2 separate regions of the Homo sapiens genome follow, and region 1 is linked to region 2. The links are contacts of gene promoters, found by promoter capture Hi-C in blood cells and fetal thymus (Javierre and others, 2016). All regions are on one chromosome and are shown on one strand. Each heading gives the region's core, a stretch centred on a gene start or on the middle of the fragment in contact. The rest is flanking DNA. Distances are from core to core; before and after follow the strand shown. Region 1 overlaps BCL6 (BCL6 transcription repressor). Region 2 holds the start of CLDN1 (claudin 1).

Evidence for each region. The method cuts DNA at HindIII sites, captures the fragments that hold promoters and counts their contacts. A CHiCAGO score of 5 or more calls a contact.
Region 1: a fragment that was not itself captured here is called in contact with the fragment with the promoter of CLDN1 in region 2 in 1 of 17 cell types (naive CD8 T cells); the score reaches 5.9 in naive CD8 T cells.

What each region holds. Positions count from the first base shown.
Region 1 is chr3:187,738,752-187,743,612 of GRCh38, reverse strand. The region is part of intron 1 of BCL6 (BCL6 transcription repressor); the gene reads left to right. Among named protein-coding and RNA genes, the nearest start is that of BCL6-AS1, 2.5 kb to the left of the region's middle. RefSeq lists enhancers at 1,423-1,922, 1,923-2,424, 4,517-4,861 and a silencer at 3,840-4,015. The HindIII fragment of the contact is 1,021 bases long and covers 2,997-4,017 here.
Region 2 is chr3:190,318,318-190,323,844 of GRCh38, reverse strand. It overlaps CLDN1 (claudin 1), which reads left to right and starts at 1,399. Exons shown (of 4, transcript NM_021101.5): 1 at 1,399-1,861. The coding sequence starts at 1,639. It also overlaps a transcript of CLDN16 not described here. RefSeq lists a silencer at 1,249-1,408. The HindIII fragment of the contact is 3,794 bases long and covers 373-4,166 here.

The DNA.
Region 1 (4,861 bases), core at 2,258-4,757, 2.6 Mb after region 2:
AAATGGAACTAGTGTTGCAATAATGAGTTTTAAAGCTCCCCCATGGAAAACAAAAACACAACCAAACCGATTTTTTAAAAAAATGAAAAAAGACCCTCTGTGTTGTGTTCCCTTCTACGATGGTTGTGTTGGTGGCTGGGGTTTGGGGGTGGGGGGTCCTGACAGTTGAGCAGATAAATGACCCCAAACCAGGTGCTGAAAGTCCCAAGCTGTCACAGGGCCCCTGACCACCTCAGAGAGCCAATCTCCACTCCGCGCCCCCTCCCCGCCGGCCCCCGCCACCCCACAACCCGCCAGGATTTAATCTTTTATGGATTTTTTTTTCAGTTTATAGTTTCCAGGAGGAAAGTCTTGTAACGCTTTACTTTTTCTCTTCTTTTTTTAAAGTAAAGTGAGTGTCAGTAGATGTGTTTTTTACAGTCTGGATTTTAAAAAAAGTGGGGCAGGAGAGAGGGAACCAGGGAAAGGGCTGTTTAGAAATACAGTTTGTGGCTCTGAGCGATGCCACCGGCTTCCTCTACAGAGACTGCCAGTTTCCCTTTTTCTTTGCAAGGTGTGTGTGGTTTTAATAAATAACTTAAAAAAAAAAAGAGGGGGCGGCAAGATCCATCAGGAGACAGGTATCTATTTTGCTCACTATTTACTACCAAGAGCCTTTGGCACTAGAACAGAACCTCGTAAATCTGCAGCCCAAGTTGAAGTTCATCTGGCCCTAGTCCACACGCTATTCCTGGAGGTAGCAAACATGAGCTCAAAGAAGAGAGATGAAATCACATTCTTGCTTTAAAATATATACTTTTTTAAAAAAGACGAAAAGATATTTGTCTCTGGGGGAGGAGGAAATGGCGAACAAGTACCAGGAGATGGGCATTCCCTTACTCTAATGACTGCAGTTGAGTCTTCAGGCCAAAATAGAAACCTGTAGATGGCAACTCTCTCTCCACCTCCCCGCCCCGCCCGCCACCCCAAGCTTATAAATAGAAGTTTCCAGTATCCTATTTGGAAGACTTTCCAATACTAGAGGCCGAAGCATTGGCTAGTTTTAAGGGTTGTTGATAGTGACAGTAAGGCTAGATGCTGTTCATAAAAACTGGGCGACTTGAAGGAGACAGCCAGAAAAAGTGGGAATTCTCCAATTGCCCCTTTCTTCTTTTCAGTTTTGAAGGGTTTTATACCAATGCTTTCTTGAAAAGACTAACTTATTCTGGGTTTGGTGGATAGGGATGGGACTCTAAATGCTTAAGTTGTCGTTTGCTGAGCCCTTGAAGAGTTCCAGTTATTGGTTGAGTAAATGGTAGCCACGGCTAGATGTCAAAACCCTTCCTTCCCTCTATCCCCTACAGGGTAATGACACTCACAACCCACTTTGTTGTGAAAAACTTAAGAGATATAGAGGAGGCGGTGCAGCAGCGCCACCCCTCGGTGGGTGAAACTATTGGCAAAAGTCAATTTTTGAAAAATATTGGGAAGTGAACTTATGAAACATTTTTCCCCCAGAGATTTAAAAAAAATAGGGGAGATAAAACTAACGGATAAAAAGGACTTTGAAGTTTATCAAGTAGGGAAGAAAAATGTTGCTTTCCAACTAGGATGGTGTTATAATAGGCAACGTGGTTCTAAGGTTTTTTTTTTTGGTGGGGGGAGGGTGCCTGGTTGATTTTAAGTAGAAGAGTTCTCCAGGCGGAGGTAGCCCGGCCTTCCCCTTGGATTGACTTCTCAGGGCATCTTAATTCTGCTGCCTGTCTGATACCGAGATAGTGAGGGATGTTTTGGTGTAAAACACCATAGTGGCTGGAAATGCTGTAGTTTTGCCGGCGGTGGCAGGACGTATGTGTAGGGGGTGTGTTGAGGAGGTTTGTGGATGGCGTGGAGCAATGGTAGGCTGGTCTGTAGCCCTCTGTGAATCAACATCGAATGGCGCGTGCCGGTTTCCAGCACTGCGCAACAAGTGGGACCGCCGCTGCCGCCGCGAGCACAGCGAGGGTGCAGCGTGGTGGCAGAACTGGCTGGTTTCTCTTTGCCCCAGTGGAAACCAGGAACGGCCCCTCCCAACCCTCCCGATGTCCACTCCGAGACCCACAACTTCACCAAAAGACCATACCCGACTCCCCACTCCCCCGCTTTGCCAGGCGCAGTGAGCCTGAGTGGGATCCAGCACTCGGCCCCCAGCGCCCCTTTCCTCCGAGAAGATCAGGAGTTTATTCCCGACTTTCTTTGCTGGATGACCAGTGTTTGGCAAGAATCTCTGCCAATACTGTCGAGTGCCATTCTGCCTTTTGAAGACAAGTGCACCTTCTTTCCCTTCCCAGTACATAAAGCTTTTCGGAGGCTGGGGGAGAAATCAACTTATGATACATGAAACCAGCTCCAGATACCGCGTTGTGGTTGCTAGAGGCGGGAGCATCGGGAGGAACGGAATTACATACACTAAATTAAATGTTTTCTAGCTTTGCTTTTAGAGGCAATCACACCCCCAACCCTCGCCCCCACCAGACAGAAAATAAAGAGGGGCGGGTAGGGATCGGTGTGGAAGCTGCGGCCGCGCGGCGATTCTCGGACGGGCTGGCCTGCCACCTAGCGGTGGGCTGAGATCGAGTTCGCGGCCATGGGCGGTGGGCTCGCCGTTCCACCTCCCGGGCGGCGGTACCCTGACCAGATGCTAGGACTGACAGAAGGAGGGCACCCTCCAATGGGGATGGCATACAACCTCCAAAGTTTTGGCAAGAGGGATGAAAATCAGAAAGGCCTCGCTGCTTGCCCATCACTCAGCGATGAGCATCTATTTGCACTAAGAAAAACCACAAATAACCCGCTTCGAACACACCATCTTCCTGTCCCTGTGGCCCCTCTTAGGGGAAGTCGGTAGTGGAAGGATGCCACCTAGGAGCTCAGGGGCTTTGGGACGTACAACTCTGTTTTGCAGTTGAGGAAACAGGCCCGACGAGGAGGCTTGTTAGTGGTGAGTTAGTGACTTAACCAGGACCAGATTTTAAGCTTCTGAATTTCATGTCAGTGACTGAAAGCCAAAGGCGGGTTTATCTCAGCTCCTTAGAAGTATTTATGAGAAAGGAGCGGCTGCCAGAACCATGAGTTTAACCTCTTAGGTCACCTTTGTTGCCAGTGTTCATTGGAAACCGCTCCCCAGCAGTCTTGGAGGATTTTTTTTAAAGAAAATATGGCCTAAGATTTTCGGTAATGACACGAAAAGCCCAGATGGTGCTGAAGGGTGTGGGTCTCGGAGCTCGGGGGTTTGCGTGTTAAGAGGGGGGTTAAGGCCTGGACCAAAGACTTGCAGGGCGAGCCTCGATTCTGAAATCGCTCTCTTCCCCTTCCTAACATCCTCTGCATAGTAGCCTGGCGAGAAACCGGGTGTGTGTGTGTGAGGGGGTGGGGGTCATGTGGATAGGCCAGAATTTGTGCCACAACAGTTCCTCCGTAAAGTTTTCTTTCTCCGAGCTCGTGACTTAAGATGGCAAACGCGCGTCCGCATGCTGGCGGCCCCTAGCGGCAGCAGGCGCGCTCTGCAGGGGGAGACAGCGCCGTCGCCCCCGCCCGGGTCGGCGGGGATCGAGTTCGGCCCCTCCCACTGCGGGAGCCGTCGGAGGCCGCGTCGGAGAAACGCGCCTCTGTTCGGACTGGAAACGAATCTGGGAACGAGTTTGAAGCGCGGTCAAGTTTGACTCATCGCTTTCCAAGGACAGTTAGTGCCTTCCATCTTCATTAACGTGAATAAGGACCTTGGCTGACTTCTTTCCAGATCGGATTTTTAAAGGCATTGTTTGCTTGAGGAGATCATGCTTCTCCCCTCCCCCGCCAGCCTTTTTGCAAAGGCTGAGCCCAGTCCAGCCAGGACGGCCGAGGGATCTCTGCTCCGGGACGCGATTTGCTGGCATTGTCTTCGGGCCCTTCTGGAAGGCTGTCTCGCGCTGAGCGTATGGGGAACGTCCCTTCTGCAACTCCTCTTCAGATCTTGATGATAAAACACATCCCTCTGTTTTATTGCATTTCCTAGAAGCTTGCAGGCTTGCAAGAGCACTGTTGGCAGGAAACGTGATAGAAATGAAAGTCAGGACACAATGTCCCCGAACACCTCGGTTATCCAAAGCGGCTGTCGAGGCCATCGCGTTATCAAATTCGCTTTTATTTACTGTCGTCTCCTGCACCCTCCCGTTCCCCAGCCAAGAGGGCGAAGAGTGTTTTCCCCCAAGAATAAAAACAGCTCCGCGATTTGACCTCACCCCCTGCCGCCGGACCACGGTGGTGTCTGCAGCCGTGCAGCTAGTTGGCTGAAACACTGCTGAGACCGGGAGCCCCACGGCAGGGCCCCTGATGCGGGGTTCACTACGGCAGTTGCAGCCTTATTAAAATTCCTTGTCCTTGTCCCTAAACAGTGCTTTACACTTTCAGATTTCCCTTTGGATTTTTCAGCGGGTTATTGGAGTTATTAGATTACCAATAATCCAACAGCCTCTGTAGCCTCTCTGGCTGGAGAGGAGGGGGGAAGGGCGGAAGGCATTCTCCAAATCGGGAGGCTCTGGCCAAACTAGGTCAATGGGAAGGAGGGGAGGGGCGAGAAAGGGGTTGACGGTTTCAAACCTTGATGGAGGGCTCTCTCTAGCGTTAGGCAGCGGTAAAAACACCATTCGGTTTGAGCTCCCGGAACCACGGGACTCCTAATTTCCAATAAATGCACTTACTTCATTTTAACTTCCCAGATTCTCATCCCTACCCCTTATTAAATCCCAACCGTCTCTTTCACCTTTATCCCACCGGGCGAAGGGGTGAGAAAGCCTCAATGTAGGATTTTGAGGCCAAAGGCTCGTTCTTTGCAGACCGACTCTGACCCTTCCGCTTGCCGCAG
Region 2 (5,527 bases), core at 150-2,649:
TACATTCTTCATTGCTTGTCCCTAAATCCTAGCACGGCCAAGTCCTTTAGTTTTAAGCCTACATGAAAGGCATCCAGGGAGAGCCAGGTGGAAATGAAGGTGGTGGGGCTTGGCCTTTCTTCCCATTCCCACCTTGAGAATTTGCACCTTTCCTTCTCTGTCACCAACTAGCAGTTGCCATGGTATATAAGGGTATATCTTATTTTATCCTTAATATGTTTATTTCTGCTTCCAAGATGCTTCTGTTTTTACTAAAACCATAGAAGCTTCCCCTCCCACCACACTCGCACCACACACAAAAAGCAGTTGGAAAAACATTTCAATGATTCCTAACCACAACAGCACTTCTGACTAACTACAAAGAAGGAAGCTTTGGAGAAACATAGAGGGAAACTACAGTCCCAGCGAGACCGAAACCGGAGGGGTGAGATAGCCAGTCACAGTAAAAGCTGGAACCAGAGCCCAGACTTCCTCAACTCCAGCCCAGTCCTTTTGCCACTGGGGAAACGCTGTTTACATGTCCTCACCTGCGACGAACAACATTTGATAACTCACAAAATTAACACCTTTCAGGGAGAGCGGGGCACTGGCCAGGTCCCTCTGATAATGAATTGCTGCTCTAAGACATAACTGCTGTGGGGAGGAGGTTGGTGTTTGGCGGGGAAGGGCTGCTAGCCTGCAGTTTCATAAGGACAATAATACATCAAAAAGGACAATCATAGATCAAAGGGGATATTTTGGGTCAACTTGATATGTAGTGGAAAGCAGATTGGGAGGGGAGCCAAGTACTGGATATGCTCCGTGCGTGAGTGTGTCTGTGTGTGTGTGTGTGTGTGTGTGTAAATCATGTTGCTCTCTGGGTCTGTTTCCCAATCTGTAGAGTGTAAAAGTCTCTGAGGCTCCTTGCAGAGACAAGTGATGGAACGACCTTGACAGAAGAGAGCAGAGAGAGGAAAGAAGGGGGAGGAAGCCAAGCAAAGGAGAGAGAAATGGTGTGATGGGGGAGGAGACGCGGAGTTGGGTAGAAATGCCTTTTAATAAGATATTGGGAAAAAAGTATTAAACCTAAAACTGCAGCTCTTGAAGGATCATTTTTTCATCTTTGTGTTAGGATTTACAAGTACAGTGCATAGTAATTTTTGGATAATTGGAGTGAATGAATGAAAAGCGTGAAACGCCTTACAGGAGCGAGAAGATCCACGAGAGAAAGCGAGCAGGGACGCAGCTCTGGTGCCTGGTCCTGCCGGGTGGTCCCCACGCCGCCAGCCGCGCGTTCCCCAACCGGGCGCTCCCGGCGCCCTCTCGGTGAGCCGCCCTGAAACCGCCAGGGGGCGCTCCCCGGCTGCCGGGGCTGAGGCGGGCGGAGCTGCTTTAAATCGCGGCGCCCAGCGGTTCTGCGTCTCAGTTCCCGAGCCTGGGAGCAACCGCAGCTTCTAGTATCCAGACTCCAGCGCCGCCCCGGGCGCGGACCCCAACCCCGACCCAGAGCTTCTCCAGCGGCGGCGCAGCGAGCAGGGCTCCCCGCCTTAACTTCCTCCGCGGGGCCCAGCCACCTTCGGGAGTCCGGGTTGCCCACCTGCAAACTCTCCGCCTTCTGCACCTGCCACCCCTGAGCCAGCGCGGGCGCCCGAGCGAGTCATGGCCAACGCGGGGCTGCAGCTGTTGGGCTTCATTCTCGCCTTCCTGGGATGGATCGGCGCCATCGTCAGCACTGCCCTGCCCCAGTGGAGGATTTACTCCTATGCCGGCGACAACATCGTGACCGCCCAGGCCATGTACGAGGGGCTGTGGATGTCCTGCGTGTCGCAGAGCACCGGGCAGATCCAGTGCAAAGTCTTTGACTCCTTGCTGAATCTGAGCAGTGAGTGCACCCCCACCTCACAGCGGCCGTCCAGAGGCCCCAGTCCCCCTGCAGCTCCCTTATGGGCTCATTCTGTTGTGTGATTCCATGGTTATCAGTCTTCAGTTGATCAAGTCTTCTGATCATGTGCTCTGTCATAAGGAAATGAAGAGAATCCTGGTTTGAGGAAAGCGACGCCCAGGCATAAGCTCTAGTTTTGCCTCTAACTCCCTGGGTGACACTTCTGCCACTCTAGGTGTGGCTTCATCCTAAATTCCTATGCTGGTGGTTCGAGTTGAGGGAGTGAAGGCCAAACTTGAACTTGAGCTCTTAGACCTCTCCTAGGCATTCCGAGATTTGGGGTAAATTGAGGATTGGTAGAGTTCAGACAAGAAAATGGGATGACTGAAAAAGTTTGAAGCCTGGTAACTTCTCAAGTGTGCACGCTTAAATAAATAATCCTCAAGTATTAGATATAACTTTTTAACCTTTAATATGATTTTTTCATAGTAAAAGTTACATTCCTACTGGAAATGTCCTATCTAAGTGTCTTCTGCTTATGCTTGAGGTTGATTCTTTTAATTTATAAGATCCAGTTAGTGCAGGGAGGCCCCTTGCAAGACTCTTTGGAGAAGCTGCTTGAGATTCCCCCGAAGTTTTAATTTTCAGACCCAAGGTCTTCTGTAGAGGCTGACGGTGTAGTGCTATCTTGGAAAGAGAAGGTTGGTGGCAGGTGGGGAAAGGCTGACAAGAAAGGTTCTAAATAACCTGCGCAACATAATACAAAGAAAAAAGTAAAGGCACTGAAGGGAAATGCAGCAAAATAGTCATAGCTGATGAAATCAGAGGTCAGCTGGGAGTGGAAGGCAGTGAGAGAGAAAGAAGAGGTGGGTCTTCCTTAGGTTTCCATCTTCCACAAAGAAATTTCTGTGTAATGGATGTTCAGTGACCCCCTGTAAAACTGGAAAGGATTGTATAGAGAGACATATTTCTAAGGATGGTGGGAAGAAGGATAATAGGATAATTGTTTTACTTTGTTTTTTAAATTAAAGGTTTCGAGTTCCTTGTCCGAAAAGTCATTAAATTCCCATTTACTTAGATAATAATGATTCACGGCTGGAGTATCTTCCTTGAGAAATCACATTAATTGTCTTATATCATGTGTCTGTTATGCCCTTTAACTCACTTGAAGAAAAGATCCCTTAGTCTTTGCCTAGATGAACGTGACTGCCCACTGGCCCCCATTGCATGCTAAGGGTGAAAAGTGTTGGCATTGTTCAAGTTTACTTAACTTGTTTTGTCTACCTCCTATCAAGGGACAACTTTTAATAGTGTATATCAAAAGCCATATAGTTTAGAGTTATTAAACCTGTTCCAAATCTGTTTGAACACCTTGAATACCTGTGGCATTTGCTCAGTCAATGTGCATGGTTGTTTTGAGTGTTATTATTTCAGCTTTTGAAGGTTCTCATATCAGGACTTCTTTACACCAAAACCAATCCATAAGTTTAGTAATTATGTGTTGCTCATTGCCCTCAGGGGTTATATTTGTACTTATAAAATGAAAAATTTGGTAATAATTATTGAATTTCTCCATGGAAAGATAAATATATTTAAGGAAACGGTGTCAGGCATTTTAGGTACCACGTTAAGGAATTGGCAGGTGGAGGTTTCTAAGGACAATTCCAGAGAGGTCTCACTGTCAGTTTTATTCCTCTGATCAAAATAGTTCCTTTTCAACATCTTTAAATAGGTTTTCTTTTAACTTCCTGAAATGACCAAATGAAATCAGATTGATCTATGTTGTAAATACTCAAATGGATCATCCTTACACATGATAATGTGTTAAAATGTTTTACTTTCATTTTTTGGTTAATGTAGTTATTACAGTTTTTAAAACTAGGGTGAAAGGACTAAATACCTACCCCCCCACACACACTTTAGAGATGTCTTCCTATTTTTTTAAAACTCCAGATCAGAATCCACTTTTATTTTACTTAAAGCCATAGTTTATCCAAGGTGTGGCTTAGGCCTTTCTCTCAAAACCCATTCTCAGAAGAGGGACCCTTGACTCACAGGTGTTCTCCTCTCACCTGCCGTGACTCACGGGATGCTTTTGGATAGAACCCAGGAAACCTTACTTCATTTCTCTGCCTGAGCAGTGGTGTTTACGCCCACCAGCTGTAGAGATCTGGGATGGTGATTCATTGGCTGGTTTTGGTACAGTTTTGTTACATGTAGAGATGAAAAGGGTTATGTGTGTATATTTAAGCAGTATCACTCAGAAAAAAGCTGCATTTCATTAAGTGTGTTTAGGTGAAAAGCTTAGCTGTGGGTTTCCCGAAATTGTACCTTGCCGTCTTTCCCAGTAGAGCACACTTGTCTTCCCGGCCAGATGCAGGGCTTTAGCACGGGAAGTATTAAAATCTGTTGTTTCCCTGCTTTATGTAGGGTAGGTCATAAAAAGCATATGACCTTCATAAAGTATCTGAAGGAATACAGTGTGCTAATAGTGTATACAGTAAATACAAAATGAGATAGAGCAAGGCTTCTTCTTTTAGGTAGTTCTTGCCAAGCGGTTTATGAAAATGTAACTGAGGCACTTCCTGGGGAAACAAATGTCACATTGTGTATTGTAGTTTTATAATGGCTGATACAATTTCCATTTCATCCAAAGTATGTGATTTTATTGACCCTGGGGATTCTTGTAGCTGAAAGTTGGAATATACAAAAAGTGCCAGATACAGTTGTAGTAGACTTTTCTTGATTCACCTGTACCTCTCGCCTTGTTTTCATCTAATTCTCAAACTTTTAGGAAGCTCGCGCCAATTTTATGTGCTTGCTTAAATGCTTCTTCTTACTTGACTTTAATAGCTAGAGCTGTCCAAAGATTGAGTTGCTGTAGGAGGCTGCATGGTGGGAGGTGTGCAAGCAGAGAATAAATAAGCATTTTGAAGGAATGTTGTAGGGAAGATCCAAGCACCAGACAAATGGGAGGTTAGGCTAGACTCTCTCTCAATCTCACCGAACCCTGAGATTCTGTAATTTGTTTATAAGCTCCTCTAGCCTGTTTAACTTGCTTTGCATGAATCCACATGTGTGTAGGTGTGCTTAATGAGTATTGGTGGCTGTGAGCTTCCCCAGCACTCTCACCATGATGTCAGGCTCAATCAGAGAGACAAAATCACTGACGTGGACAGTCTTTGAAGCCTAAGTGGAGAGGAGGGCACCTATTTATGCTTCTCCAGATGCGTTGTGCCTGCTGAACCGAGGGTACTCGAAGGGCCATTGGTGTTCAGATATACTTCATAAATTAGTTCTGACTCTTAGAATAATGGAAGTTGAAGCAAAAATCCAGGCTTGAGATCAGAAATTCTCTGTTCTTACTGTGGTTTGGCACTAAGTAGCCAAGTGTATAATGGTGAGCCACTTGATCTCCCTGGTTTCAAGTAGTTACCCCACTTATAAAATAGGGCAGAGTGGGAGGAATGGGGAGATGAATCTATGATTCGTTTATCCATTCAACAGATGCAAGCTAGGCCCTATTCTTGCTGCTAAGGATGGTGCAGCTAAGATGAGTTCTAAGATTCCTTCCAGTGCCAGAATTCTTTGTTATTACTTCAGTGATTGAAGGGGAAGAGGCAAGTCACATAGCTTAGGTTTCCTTAATTGGAGTGATTAAGGAAA